4 separate regions of the Homo sapiens genome follow, and regions 1, 3 and 4 are each linked to region 2. The links are contacts of gene promoters, found by promoter capture Hi-C in blood cells and fetal thymus (Javierre and others, 2016). All regions are on one chromosome and are shown on one strand. Each heading gives the region's core, a stretch centred on a gene start or on the middle of the fragment in contact. The rest is flanking DNA. Distances are from core to core; before and after follow the strand shown.

Evidence for each region. Contacts are between HindIII fragments. The CHiCAGO score rates a contact against its expected background, and 5 or more counts as called.
Region 1: a contact is called between a fragment that was not itself captured here and the fragment with the promoter of SOD3 in region 2, in 1 of 17 cell types (M2 macrophages). The highest score is 5.2, in M2 macrophages.
Region 3: a fragment that was not itself captured here is called in contact with the fragment with the promoter of SOD3 in region 2 in 1 of 17 cell types (M1 macrophages); the score reaches 5.4 in M1 macrophages.
Region 4: a contact is called between a fragment that was not itself captured here and the fragment with the promoter of SOD3 in region 2, in 2 of 17 cell types (M2 macrophages and M1 macrophages). The highest score is 6.1, in M2 macrophages.

Annotation. Positions count from the first base shown.
Region 1 is chr4:24,550,708-24,554,399 of GRCh38, forward strand. The region is part of intron 5 of DHX15 (DEAH-box helicase 15); the gene reads right to left. Among named protein-coding and RNA genes, the nearest start is that of DHX15, 32 kb to the right of the region's middle. RefSeq lists an enhancer at 2,483-3,051. The HindIII fragment of the contact is 3,436 bases long and covers 1-3,209 here.
Region 2 is chr4:24,794,023-24,797,434 of GRCh38, forward strand. It overlaps SOD3 (superoxide dismutase 3), which reads left to right and starts at 1,551. Exons shown (of 2, transcript NM_003102.4): 1 at 1,551-1,629. The HindIII fragment of the contact is 8,707 bases long and covers 437-3,412 here.
Region 3 is chr4:24,599,786-24,603,407 of GRCh38, forward strand. No RefSeq gene overlaps it. Among named protein-coding and RNA genes, the nearest start is that of DHX15, 17 kb to the left of the region's middle. The HindIII fragment of the contact is 1,146 bases long and covers 1,236-2,381 here.
Region 4 is chr4:24,568,707-24,572,436 of GRCh38, forward strand. DHX15 (DEAH-box helicase 15) reads right to left here. Exons shown (of 14, transcript NM_001358.3): 3 at 1,948-2,141. Among named protein-coding and RNA genes, the nearest start is that of DHX15, 14 kb to the right of the region's middle. The HindIII fragment of the contact is 2,716 bases long and covers 255-2,970 here.

The DNA of each region.
Region 1 (3,692 bases), core at 242-2,741, 240 kb before region 2:
ACCTGCCTAAGCCTGTTTTACAGTTAACATTTTTAAGTCGAAGGAGAACACTCTAAAATAATGATAAAACATGTAGTATAGTAAATACAAAAACCACTAACAATGTCCTATTATCATTATTATTATGTACTGGACATAATTGTACATACTATATAGTACTTTTAAAACAACTGGCAGCAAAGTAGGTTTGTTTGAACTAGCATCATCACAAAGCAGTGAGTAATGTGTTGTGCTGTGATGCTGCAAGGTTACGTTCAGCTCCACTATAATCTTACGGGAGCAGCACCACAGCTATCTGAGAAGTTTGTCTTGACCAAAACGTTGTTATGTGGCACATGACTATATTCTAACACATGTGCATTCAAGAGGAGACATAATGAATATCAAGACGGAAAAAAAGAGAGAGACAGATTATGTATGATAGCTCTGGGAGAGGCAAAGGAACTTAAAAATGGAAGGCAGCACTGCGGACAAATGTATTCTAAATTTTATTGAAGTATTAATTCAATTAAACCCAGAAGTATGTAAAACGCTTATTATACACTAGGCAGCCTGTCCAATAAATGACCCAATCAGAAGCTACCCTTGTCAACAAAGTGCGTGTTTTTTTCAAAGGACAATGATACTAAACGGTGAGGAAGAATTTTAGGACATTTACTTTATATTTTTTTAATGTCCAACTGTGTCTCTATATCAAAAAACACAACGTTCTTAAACACAGTAAGAACAAATAAATTACTTTTCACTTATTTCAAACACATCAGTTTTTTTTAAAGGTTATCTGTCTCAAAAATTGTGACACAGAAAACTATTAAAGATTCAATGTTACTAGATCCTCCTTTGAAATCTCAAGTTTCTAAAAGAAAATGAAAGTAGATGCTATTCATCTAAATAAAAAATATAACAAAGCGAACAAATATTTTTTGAAAATACTGCTTTCAAATGTTGTATCTAGATTAGAATGCCCCCTGCTGGCATGCAAATAAAAAATTAAGAGCTCTCCAACTTAAAAAACATTTGAACATAATATAAAACTAGGATTCCAACATTTAAGAGTATCTGCAATTTTGTTAATTTTACTGTACATAAATGAAAAATAAATGCTCAGAAATCACAAAATATCCAGATTTCACACATTAAAAATTAAGTGCTTAAATTAGACATTTGCTTTGTGATTCCAGTATTTTAAAATGACAATTCCAACTTTACTGGAGATTAGACTACCCAATCTGCTAAGTATGCAAGGAGCTAAAACAAAATGATGACTATGTAGGATATAAAGGCATCTCTAAAATGTGGAAGAAATCCCGTAACACTTAAGTTTTTAGATAAAGTCCTAAACAGCTTTAAAACTTGCAATAAAAATTTTCCCTGAGGTTTGCCAAACTTCCAAGAAGTCAACACTATCAGCTGAGAATGCCACAAAACTTATCTGCATTCATCAGAATATAAACAGAAACAGGTAGTGGAGGAAAAGAAGTTTCAACAGCAGCCATCTGCTTAGTCATTAGCAATACTGAGAATAAAGACAGACAGTTCAGGAGTTTTTGATTTGAGAAAAGATTTTTAACTCCAAAAGCAGCAATATGTTAGTAAATTAATCTGGACCTTACCAATTAACTCACTGCATGTTGAAAAAAAAATTTACTAAGCAAAATTAAAAATAAAATTATTTAATTACAATCACTCTTATCTAATTACTATCTAGGCAACACTTTAAACTGTTCTCTCTCCCTCCCAAATTAACTCATGTGACTACAGAAGCACTTTTATTTAGTGGTCAGAATATGTTCTTAAAAACCAGTTTTAAATTTTTATGAGATTACTCAATTTCATGGAGGCTATTCAAATTTATGAAGAAAGGAGTACTGATTTCGCAGTTGCATTTAACTTACCAAGTAAAAATAATGAAGGTTCACAAAAATGAGAAGGTAATATTTACTTTAGACCAGCTCTACTACTAAATACAACAAATGAAATGTAAACAAAACGTTAGGTTTTCTGCTACCTTCTCCCCAAAACTCTTCAAATTCAAGACTGGGAATCTAAAGATAACTTAAAGAAGCAATGGTATGCAAAAAAACAGCTGACAACTAGAGCAGCATTTTATTTCATGAAAGACACTCTAGCATACATCTGAAAACCCTTCGGCTTACTCCCTTCCTTTCCCCAGCTGTGGGATTCACAGAAAATACCGCACAAAGTTGTCTCAGAGAAAAACCTTTCGGGTCCTTAACCATGAGGCCATTTGATATTTCTGATAGAATCTCAATACGCTTATGTTATCTGAGAATGATGACAATTTTAAATAGTGATTTAAAAAATAAAAATATGGCCAGGTGCAGTGGCTCACGCCTGTAATCCCAGCACTTTGGGAGGCCGAGGCGGGTGGATCACCTGAAGTTGGGAGTTCAAGACCAGCCTGACCAACACGGAGAAACCCCATCTCTACCAAAAATACCAATTAGTTGGGCATGGTGGCGCATGCCTGTAATCCCAGCTACTCGGAAGGCTGAGGCAGGAGAATCACCTGAACCTGGGAGGCAGAGGTTGCGGTGAGCCGAGATCGCGCCACTGCACTCCAGCCTGGGCAACAAGAGCAAAACTCCATCTCAAATAAATAAATAATAAAACAAAATAAATAAAAATAAAAATATACTATGCACTTTGGAGGAAATGAGAAACTAGAGACCAGACACAAGAGGACAAAACGATTATCCCAACAGCCTCAATACTACATTACAGCACAAATGCTGTTTATATGCCATCAAAAAAGCATTTTGGGGCCAGGTGTGGTGGCTCGCGCCTATAATCCCAGCACTTTGGGAACCCGAGAAGGGCAGATCACCTGAGGTCAGGAGTTCGAGACTAGCCTGGCCAACATAGTGAAACCCCGTCTCTACTAAAAATTAAAAAAAAATTAGCCAGGTGTGATGGTGGGCACCTGTGATCCCAGCTACTTGGGAGGCTGAGGCAAGAGAATCGCTTGAACCCGGGAGGCAGAGGTTGCAGTGAGCCGATAATCATGCCACTGCGCTCCAGCCTGGTTGACAGAGCGCGACTCTGTCTTCCCTCCCCACCCCCAAAAAGAAAAAGAAAAACCCTTTCGTAAAAGGCTTTTTAAAACTTTGTATTATCCAAATAGCTTCTGAATTTATTTAGCCACTCAGGTATTCCACAGCACACCTATAAACACCCTATTGAAAAGAAGCTTAGAAACGCTACATCTGGCCGGGTGCGATGGCTCACGCCTGTAATCCCAGCACTTTGGGAGGCCGAGGAGAGTGGATCACGAGGTCAGGAGATTGAGACCATCCTGGCTAAAACGGTGAAACCCTGTCTCTACTAAAAATACAAAAAATTAGCCGGGTGTGGTGGCGGGCACCTGTAGTCCCAGCTACTTGGGAGGCTGAGGCAGGAGAATGGCGTGAACCCAGAAGGCGGAGCTTGCGGTGAGCCAAGACTGCACCACTGCACTACAGCCTGGGCGACAGCGCAAGACTCCGTCTCGAAAAAAAAAAGAAATGCTACATCTGAGAATAAAATTTTAAATGAAGTAAATTCTAACTAAGAACTTTTAGTAATCCTTCCCAAATTTCATGAGCATATGGGAAGACAAAACCAAACTGAAGTGTTTTGATGATGAATAGGCACCCAAGTTCACTCACAAGCTAAATACTGATGAAGATAAC
Region 2 (3,412 bases), core at 301-2,800:
AGCAAGTGCCATTTAAAATAGTAGCTATGAATGTATATAATTAGGATTTCAAGAACTGAATGAAAATATAAATGTTTTAAAAATGGGAAGAAAGATTCACAATAAGGAACTAGACTGTTGCAGGGTGGGGGTGGGGTGGTGGGTGGCATGGGGAACTCTGAAAACTCATTAGTTGAGGATAACTACGCCTACCAACAGAATGCAGAGGTGCAAGACTGAGCTACTGGTGCCTGAGTTCTCAGCGGGCCAGAAGGAAGGACGGTAGGGTGGAAGGGCTGGAGTCTCAGTTCTGGGAAGTCTCCCTCTTATCTCGCAGAATGCCTGTCCCTGGATAAAGATCATTAGTTTGAGTTTTTCCAAGATGATTCTAGGAAGCTCCTGCTGGTAACTAAGTCACCCATCCTGGGGTGGGATCCAGAGATTTAGATTTTTTATAAGCTTTCCTGCCACCGAAACGGGTGTTTGGGACCTCACGAGGCCCTGTTCATTCTTCGTCGCTGCGCTCCCCACTCTGTACTGGATGCATTTACTGACGTTGTTGTCTCCGTCCCCAGAGTATGAACCCCCAAGGTGACTCATGCAGCTGTGGGTGCCCGGCATACAGCATGGTGACTGGAATGGATGAGCACCCAATAAACATTTGTTGCAGGAATGCAGGAGGACGGGCAGGCCAGCAAGCAGGCTGCCTGGTTTTTCCCACATGGGCTTTTCTGGGAAAGAAGAGCTTCTATTTTTGGAAAGGGCTGCTATGATTGAGAAAAGTTCATGGCAGCAAAAAAAGGACAGACGTCGGGAGGGAAACACTCCTAGTTCTCCCAGACAACACATTTTTTAAAAAGACTCCTTCATCTCTTTAATAATAACGGTAACGACAATGACAATGATGATTACTTATGAGTGCGGCTAGTGCCAGCCACTGTGTTGTCACTGGGCGAGTAATGATCTCATTGGATCTTCACGGTGGGCGTGCGGGGTGGACAGCCTCACACCCCCATTTTACAGATGATGAAAAGGAGGTGCAGGGAGTGGTGCAGCTGCTTCAGGCGTACACAGATAGGAAGTGACAAGGCTGGGACTCTGCAGCCTGAGTGTGTCATCACGACCCACCCGCTGCTCTGCTCTCATAGGTATGACAGCACAGCTCTGGAGCAAATGCCACGCACATTTGCAAGGTGCCCATTTCCATGCAGCAAAAATAAGTCAATAAGTTATTGACTTACAGAAAAGCAAAGGGCCTCTCAATAAAGAGGTCATTGTACACCTCTCCAAACAGGCGATTTTCTTTCTCATTTTTATTCCCCTGCTGTGTGCTGAAGGTCACTGGCTACAAGCCGGTGAAGTCGCGGAATGGAATCCTTGGCCCGAAAACCCAAAAATGGGAGGGGCAGAGGAGGTGGGGACAGAGCGGGAGGAGGTGGAGGCGAAGCAATTCTACAACCCGGGGAGGTCTGGCCTGCTTTTCCTCCCTGAACTGGCCCAATGACTGGCTCCCTCACGCTGACCACTCCTCTGGGCTGGCCTCCTGCACTCGCGCTAACAGCCCAGGCTCCAGGGACAGCCTGCGTTCCTGGGCTGGCTGGGTGCAGCTCTCTTTTCAGGAGAGAAAGCTCTCTTGGAGGAGCTGGAAAGGTGGGTGCTAAGTTGAGGTTCATTTTGTTCTTCTCGGAGTGTGCTTATTGAGTCTGAAGCTGGGTTGGGGCAACGGGCCTCTTCTTGGGAACAAATTGGATCATCTTCTTGGGAAGGAAATGTACTTTCCCTGGCTGCTCTGAGGGGTTAGTGGGGAGGTGGAGTGAGCGGGGAGGAAGGCAAGGAGGGGAGGAAGAAACCGTTCCTCCTGTGGATCTGCAAAGACCAGTCCAAGAGGATTTTAGTGTTAGGAAAAGGAATCTGGAGTGACGAGAAAGGGGGCCTTTCTAGATGTTGCATGGCTTTGGTGTCGGGAGCCACTTATGGGACAGCAGGTACTCTAAAAAGCCACCTCCTTAGGAAAGCAGAGAGGCCCTGGCCAGCTCAGGCTCCCAGCAAGAGCTCCTTCTAGGAGACAGCTGAGGGATGAAACACACCCAAGGCTCAAGAGGGGCAGGTTCTTCCCAGATACAGACCCAGGAAGGAGATAAAGGCTTGGTGCCTCTATTTGGTTCAGGATAAGGGCCCCTGTCCTCTTTCTCTGATAACACTGTCCTCTTTCTCTGATAACACCGTCCTCCCTTCCAGATCCACGTACAAAGGAGGCCCTTAAAAAGGCACTTGGTCATTCACAGCTCAAACTGAGCAAGAGGCTGTGGGAGAAGAATCAAGTTGGTCCCGAGGGGAAGAGGTGTCAAAGGCTTAAGAAACAAGAAGTCAGAGTTTACCTGGGTTTGAGGGAGAATTTTCTTTCCCCCTTTTCCTCCTCCTCCTCCTTCTTCTCTTTTTTTTTTTTTTTTTTTTTTTTTTGAGACATGGTCTCATTCTGTCACCCAGCACCCAGGCTGGAATGTAGTGGCACGATCACTATCACGGCTCACTACAGCCTCTACCTCCCGGGCTCAAGCGATCCTCCTACCTCAACCTCCTGAGTAACTGGGACTACAGGCACATGCCACCACACCCAGCTATTTTTTTTTTTTTTTTTTGCTAGAGATGGGGGTCTCTACCAGGTTGGTCTCATACTCTTGTACTCAAATGATTCTCCTGTCTCATCCTCCCAAAGGGGTGGGATTACAGGCATAAGCCACCATGCCTGGCTCTTCTTTTGGTTTCAGAGAAAAACATCTCCTTAAAATGTTTATTTCCCAAGGATTCTTGAAAAAGAAAGCTCACTGACACACCCAAAACAATCTGGTTTTGCTCTGTGCTTTTAGGGAGAACTTTCTAAGCAGCAGAGCCCTTCTGAGTGGCAGGGCTGTCTTAGGAGGAAGGTGTCTTTGATGATGGGGAACTTCATGTCCAGGTCTGGCAGGAGAGTTACCCCACTTTCCTGCCTACTCCCTGGGGCTTTGGGGTAGTAGTACCACATTGGGCCATGTCATTTAGGTGAGTCCTTCAACATCACTTTCTCTGCTTCTCCCTCTTTCTGGATCCTCCTTCTTGGAGCCTTTCAAGGGGACCTCCTCTCACAGTGTCCATAGCATCTCTTAGCTAATGGTCCTTAAAATCTCTACCAGCAGCTCTCTCTGATAGCTAAGAGCTGCCATTTACTGGGAACTTTCTATGTACTGGGCTCTGTGCTAAGTGCCCTAGATGAGAGATGTGCAGTGTGGTGCCTAAACCTTGGGCTTGGAGCAGACACACACTTTCAAATCCTGCCTTCAGCTCCTTAGTGAACATGTCACCTTGGGCGGGACACACGCCTCTCTGTGCCTCAGTTTCCTACACTTTAGAATGGGGATAACACTGAATAATGTTCTTGTGAGGATGCAGGGAATTA
Region 3 (3,622 bases), core at 559-3,058, 190 kb before region 2:
AGACAAGAGCATAACGCCATCTCAAGAAAATAAAAATAAAAAATAAATTTAAAAAAACTGATTAAGAAACTTTCCAAGACTCCAGAGAAAGCTTTCCAGACCCTAGACCCTAGTTAAAGATTAGATATAGAGTGAATGAAACACTCCTGCTTGTAGATGCAATTCTACATGTAGCATGGAGCTTAAAATGTATGTCAGCACTAGCAAAAAACTTGTAACTTTGAGTTGGTATGGTGAGTTACTTCGACCTTCTCTCTGTAACCGGTTGCAGAAATAAACTCCCTTCTTTCCCAGTCTGTCTGCATCTTGTTATTGGATCACAGAAATGAGCAGCCAGACCTTGTTCTGTCCAGGAACAATTCTGGTGACTCCTCAGGGATGGATCTGTGCTCAGTGGCCAGTGGCTTCTAAGTCGACAGTCATCGGGAGACTCCCAACAGCTGCCAGGTACGGTTTGTCCTGGGGAGTCTCCCAAGGACCTTCCCGGATGCAAAGACCCCCTGTCTCTCTATTACTGGGGAACAACAGAGGCTGGGAATGGAGCTGCTCAAAGGGTTAAGTAAAACCTGATGGAAAGCTGGGGGTCTATTGTTTTCTCTATTAGAGCTCATGTAGCCATTTTTTTCAGTACTGTTGAGGAAACAATAGGACTCCTTTGTATACCCGGTCACGGTTAATACTGAGTATCAACTTGATTGGATTGAACGATACAAAGTATTGATTCTGTGTGTGTCTATGAGGATGTTGCCAAAGGAGATTAGCATTTGAGTCAGTGGGCTGGGAAAGGCAGACCCACCCTTAATCTGGGTGGGCACAATCTAAACAGCTGCCAGCGTGGCTAGAATACAAGCAGGCAGAAAAAAGTGAAAAGAGAAACTGGCCTAGCCTCCCAGCCTACATCTTTGTCCTGTGCTGGATCCTTCCTGCCCTTGAACATTGGACTTTAAGTTCTTCAGTTTTGGAACTCGGACTGGCTCTCCTTGCTCCTCAGCCTGCAGACGGCCTATTGTGGGATCTTGTGATCGTGTGAGTTAATACTTAATAAACTCCCGTTTATATATTCCATGAGTTCTGTCCCTCTAGAGAACCCTGATTAATACACCCACTTTACAAAGTTAGAGGACCTATTTGCATTTGTTTGTGAAAATTCATTTGTTCTGTTGGTCTGATATTAAGTTTAGAGTAGTCAGTATGGGCAACAGGGCATCTATCCCTACAAATAGTCCTCTGGGAAAAGCTTTGTCAGATTGGAAGCACGTTGGTTATCTGCTAATGACAAGAAGAGTTAATCTTCTGTTGTAACACATCTTGGCCAATGTATGTTTTGGGGTCTGAGAAATGGTAGCCAGTTTTTGGATCTTTAAATTTTCATACCATTTATCAATTAGAATTGTTCTACCAGAGGTCAGGTAAATGAGGTGAAATACCTTACATCTGGGCATTAATGTTGCTAAGGAAAAAGGAAATAAGCTAACTTGGCAATGCACTGCCAAGTCTGTCCTGACTCACAAGGGGAGGAAGAGAAAGCCTTTGAAACCCAATTTAATGAATAGTTAATGAATACCCTAAACCCCATAGTGGCTACTGCCGCAGCTCAGGAAAGAGAGGGAATGCTACCCATAGAGTACAGGAAGGCAGCAGGGCTACTGTCTCCCTCTAGGACTAGGCAAGGTACTAATTTTGGCCAGGGAGTCACTGAGTCTGGAGCAGGGAAGTTCCCACTGTAACAATATTCAGTAGGAGTCAATTAGCAAGGAGCTCCAGCCAACATTATTGGGCCTATAATACCACTGTATTTGCTACACAGTGCCCACCTGGGCAGATGTGCAGGCTCTCCTAAGCATTATGCTCACTGCAGATGAGCGGCAGCTGGTTTTCAATAAAGTGAAGGAAGAGGCGCAATGACTTCATCATGAAAATTCAGACAACACAGATCCGGGGGCGGCAATTCCCCACAGGGACCCTAATTGGGATATTGTAGAGGACATACATCCCACTGTAGCTAACCCATATACTAAGTTCATTTCTCTTCCTGGAGATTATAAATGGCTGACAGTATTGGATTTAAAAGATGCTTTCTTTTGCATACCCATAGACACAGAAAGTCAACTGTTGTTTGCCTTTGAATGGATAGATCTTGAAGCCGCAACGTGGTTTCAGTATCATTGGACTGCACTCCCACTAGGATTTAAAAACTCTCCACATATATTTGGGGAAGCCTTGGCTTGAAATTTAAAGAGTTTAAAATTGGAAAATGGGGTATTGTTACAATATGTGGGTGATTTACTAATACCTAGCCTCTCTGAATGGGAATGTCAGAATAACACCATTAAAACTCTTAACCACCTAGCCACCCGTGGGTATAAGGTTTCAAGTAAAAAAGCTTAGATATGCCAACAAACTGTGGCATACTTAGATTTTCTCTTGCAGGAGGGAGCTAGAGCTCTAATAGTGGAAAGACAAAATGCAATCGCTTCCATTGCAGCACCCACTACCAGAAGGTAGTTGAGAGGATTTCTAGGCAAGGCAGGGTTTTGTTAGATCTGGATTCCTAACTATGAACTACCAATGAAGCCGCTATACAGTCTGTTAAGGGACCTAACAATGATGCCTTCGATTGGGAGCAAAACACCAGCACTCATTTGGACAACTGAAATGTAAGTTAACCTCCACCCTATTCCTGGGGCTCCCAAATCCTCATAAGCCTTTTCAATTGTACATGCATGAGAGACTGGGTCTAGCACTGGGGATCCTTAACACAGAAATTAGGAGAAATCTTGCAGCCACTAGGCTTACTTTCCTAAACAACTGGATAATGTGGCCAAAGGCTGTCTCCTGTTCAAGGGCGGTCACTGCCACCTGCCTACTATTAAAGGAGGCTGAAAAGTTGACTTTGGGACAGCCTGTTACTGTCTACGTGCCTCACCAAGTACTAGTGTTACTAGAACAAAAGGGAGGCTACTGGCTGACAGTGGGCAGATTGAGCAAATACCAGGCCACACTCCTAGATGAACCCACAGTAAAAGTGCAGGTTACCAGAGCCTTGAACCCAGCTACTTTACTTCCCTCTACCGAAGAGCCAAAAGAACTTATGCATAATGTTTACCAATTATTGACTAAGGTGTTTTCCAGTCACCCTAATTTAAAGGACACAGCCCTGCCATATGCATACTGGACATTGTTCATGGATGGGAGCAGCCTGGTAACCGACAGAAAAAGAAATGCTATATATGTAATGGTAACGTTTTCAGAGGTCACAGAAGCCAGGACTTTACCACTAGGAACCTCTGCACAGAAGGCAGAACTGATTGCCCTTACAAGAGCCTGCAGTTGTTCCAGGTAAACAAGGCACTTGGAATAAATTGCAGACTATACTCAGCATGGAGACCACAGTCTTCTGGACAGACTGAAAGGAAAATCCAGCACTAAAAACAGTTATTGCCAAACTGTGCCAGGAAACTCAACCAAAATGAATTCAGGTACTTGGCATTGCATTGCTCTGGGTAAGAATGACCTCCCCAGATGTGGGATTAGGTTAAGTCCTGTGAAATGATACATGAGAGACCCTTTTGGGTTACTAGGGTGCCCCTTAATAAGAAGTCAACTATTAAACATTGTGTTA
Region 4 (3,730 bases), core at 363-2,862, 230 kb before region 2:
ATGTGAATCAAGTCAGAATAATGATATTCCTCCTAAAGATGAGTAAAATCTCCCCCTTATTATCCTCAAGTCCTTGACATTACCTGCATTTTAAAGTAATACAACATAATGAGCTATGATTTTGCTTATGCAATTATTGTCAATTATACTGTAATTACCAGTGATCAATAACGTATCACTGAACAACTACAAGAATTTATTCAGTGAAGATTAAGGTTTAAGCCAAAAATATGTCCCATAAAGTCATAAGGATAAGCTTATTTAAATATTTTAAAGTTCAACTGCTATTAAATATCACGCTGAATAAAAAGTTCTAATAAAATGAGATAAATCAAAGAATTAGAAAAAACTGACACAAATGTTGAATGAAAACTGGATATTTTGATCCAATAAATTGTTTTAAGTTATGATAGCTCTATTTTAAGAAACTATCTCAGAGATACACACTGAAATATTTATATATATAATTATTTGGTATCTAAGACTGCTTCGAAATAACATGGGACAGGGAAATAAATTAAGATTGGATATGAAATAAATAAGACTGAAATAGTTAAAAGTCGATGATAAACACATGCAGTTCATTATTCTATTCAATTTCTGCGGCTGGGTGTAGTGGCTCACGCCTGTAATCCCAGCACTGTGGGAGGCTGAGGCGGGCGGATCATGAGGTCAGGAGTTAGAGACCAGCCTGGCCAACATAGTGAAACCACAACTCTACTAAAGATACAAAAAGTTAGCCAGGCATGGTGGCGCACACCTATAGTCCCAGCTACCTGAGAGGCTGAGGCAGGAGAATCGCTTGAACCCGGGAGGCGGAGGTTGCAGAGAGCCGAGATGGCGCCACTGCACTCCAGCCTGGGCAACAGAGTGAGACTCCATCTCAAAAAAAAAAAAAAAAAAAAAAAAGAGAGACTCTTGTTTCATTTATCCCATTAACACTATATATCTCTCTGACAACAAAGACTCTGACAACAAAGACTCATATCACTGCCTACACAACGCTCCAAAATGGTTTTTAAAAACCTCAGGGAGAAGATCACATAGATATGATTTTTCTTTTTTTTTAAAAGAAATGTGGTCTTGCTATGTTGCTCAGGTTCAAATGCAGTAGCTATCACAGGCATGATCAGAGCACACTGTAGCCTTGAACTCCTGGCCTCAAGCAATAATCCTGCTTCAGCCTACGAAGTGGCTGGGAATAAACAGGCATATGCCACTGAGCCCCACTCAAACAAGTCACATTTAAAAGGACTTAAATATCACATAAATACAGAATAAGCAGAAGCAACCAGAGGGAAGACTTGAGAAAGAATCATCATCAGGTAGCATACATCATAACTTATGCAGAATGCAAGTATAAGACAATAAAAAGTTGGTAGAGTTAAAACATTAGAAAGCTCAATACAGTAGTCAATTATCTGCACCATAGCTATAGAGGAACAAGGACCTAGAGGCAGCTCTAACAGTGTATTACAGAACAAAAGATTCCTCTTTTTAGCTTATAACAGATGCACGGTAATAGCTGCATAATTAACATTAAAAGTCCCCTCTCCCCTAAATAAATCACATCCCATCCTATACATTCTTCTTTCTAAAAGTAGTTATCTTTTACTAAGTAAGACATATCACTTTCCTTTTCTTTCACAATTAAGTCATACACCATTGTGTCTACTAAAACCACACATTTTACAGTATCAGTAACATTTCACCTAAAATGCAGAACCAAGTAACTAAAATCTGACCTTTGAACTTCAATTTCTACCAAGTAACTATAGATTACCAATAATATATAATTAAACTAAGGTCATGTGGTAAGTCTAAGAAGGCCTACTTTGGATAATTCTAAATTTGGATGACATAAGCCTGCACTAGCAAAGTCTTCTATCTAATAGCAGAAAATGGCAAGCAGAGGACTAAAAGCGTCATTAAAGATATAGTACTTACTTAAGAATGGTTTTTGCACTACTGCAGTCTTCAAATCGAATGGAGTAACCAACTTCCTGGCCCAACATCACATCCATCTCATCAGCAACTCTCTGAGCCACACTCATTGCAGCCACTCTCCTGGGTTGGGTACAGGCAACTCCTCTCTTGGGTCCTGGTAATGATCGCATGTACTCCACACACCACTGTGGAATCTATCAAATAATTTCACATTTAAATTAATTCTATTCTGCCTGCATATCAAGTATATGTAACATAAAGCACTTTATCTCATTCTAATGATTTAAAACCAAATCCAATTAGGCAAATGACTATAAGACTTGTGATTCAAAACTTGTAACAACACAAGCTCTCTAAACCAAGGAACAGTTATGTGTAATACTGATATGACACACACCCAAGTTGGGTAGACACAATCAGGAATACACTCGACAGTGTGACTATCCCATCATGAAGTATTTCTCTATGCAATTTTAAAAAATCCAACTTACAACAAATTCTACTTTATAACAAACGTTTCTAAGAAAGTGTAACTTTTAAATTCTTACATAATTTGAGTTGCAAAATCAAGTGGAAATCATACCCCCTTGTAACTCTGAAGCTGTACTTTTATTTAATTCAATTCAAATTTGGTTTATAAGCCAGCAGAACCTAACTCTTAGCACCCAACTCTTTTGTAATCCTATCCTTTCCCCCTCAGGAGCAGTATGCACAATGGTAGCACCTTAGGTACCATCTTAAAATCAATTTTAAGAACTGCCAGTCTCAAATTTAACAGGACCTAGAGCAGCACCACTTCGTTAAGGGCAGCCAAAGGGTTGGGGGACCCCCAAGCACAAGTTAAATTGGTTGCCATGACGGCAGTACATTTTCCCCCAGTTCCATTATCAATATAAGCTAATGGATTCCCCAATTTTACAGTTTTCCAGTCACTTAACTGGAAAAGAACCATGGGAAAAATGTAAGTGCTCACCATATTATATGGAAATCCACTGCTAGAAGAGCATAACTGGTTTACATCAAAGCTTCCAAACGCCTATCAAACTCTAATGCTACAGGAAACATGGAGTTTTCTGCACAGTATCAGTACAGTAAAACTGATAAGGAATATTGGTGGCTGCACTATTATTACATTTTAGTTAGGTTGCTTCTGCAATTGGGGGTAACTTGTCACTAACAAATATCTGAAAGGGAGGGTAATTATGCTGATTCTCTAAAATCATATATATCTTTAAAACACTTTAAATGAACAAAAATAACTAAAGAAGTAGTATCTATCGGGTTCTGTAAATCCACAGACCTAGGTTTAAGTGGTTTTCTAGTCAGGCTATAAAGCCTTACTTACTGATATATCCTCAATTCGGCAACCCTTTTACAAAGGCAAAATGTACTTTCAAAGATCTAGAAAGTGAAATTCACTCACTGGTGAACCAAAGATATTTAAAATTAATTCAAAATTCTCAAGGCAAGAATGTTCAGATCTTTTGTTTTTTTGTTTGTTTTTTGAGATGGAATCTCACTCTGTTGACCAGGCTGGAGTGCAGTGGCATAATCTTGGCTCACTGTAACCACCAAGGTTCAAGCGATTCTCCTACTTCAGCCTCCCAAGTAGCTGGGACTACAGGCACGTGCCACCACGCCTGGCTAATTTTTTGTATTTTTAGTAGAGACAGGGTTTCACCACGTTGGGCAAGCTGGTGTCGAACTCCTGACCTCAGGTGATGCACCCGCCTCAGCCTTCCAAAGTGCTGGGATTATAGGCGTGAGCCACCATGCCTGGCCA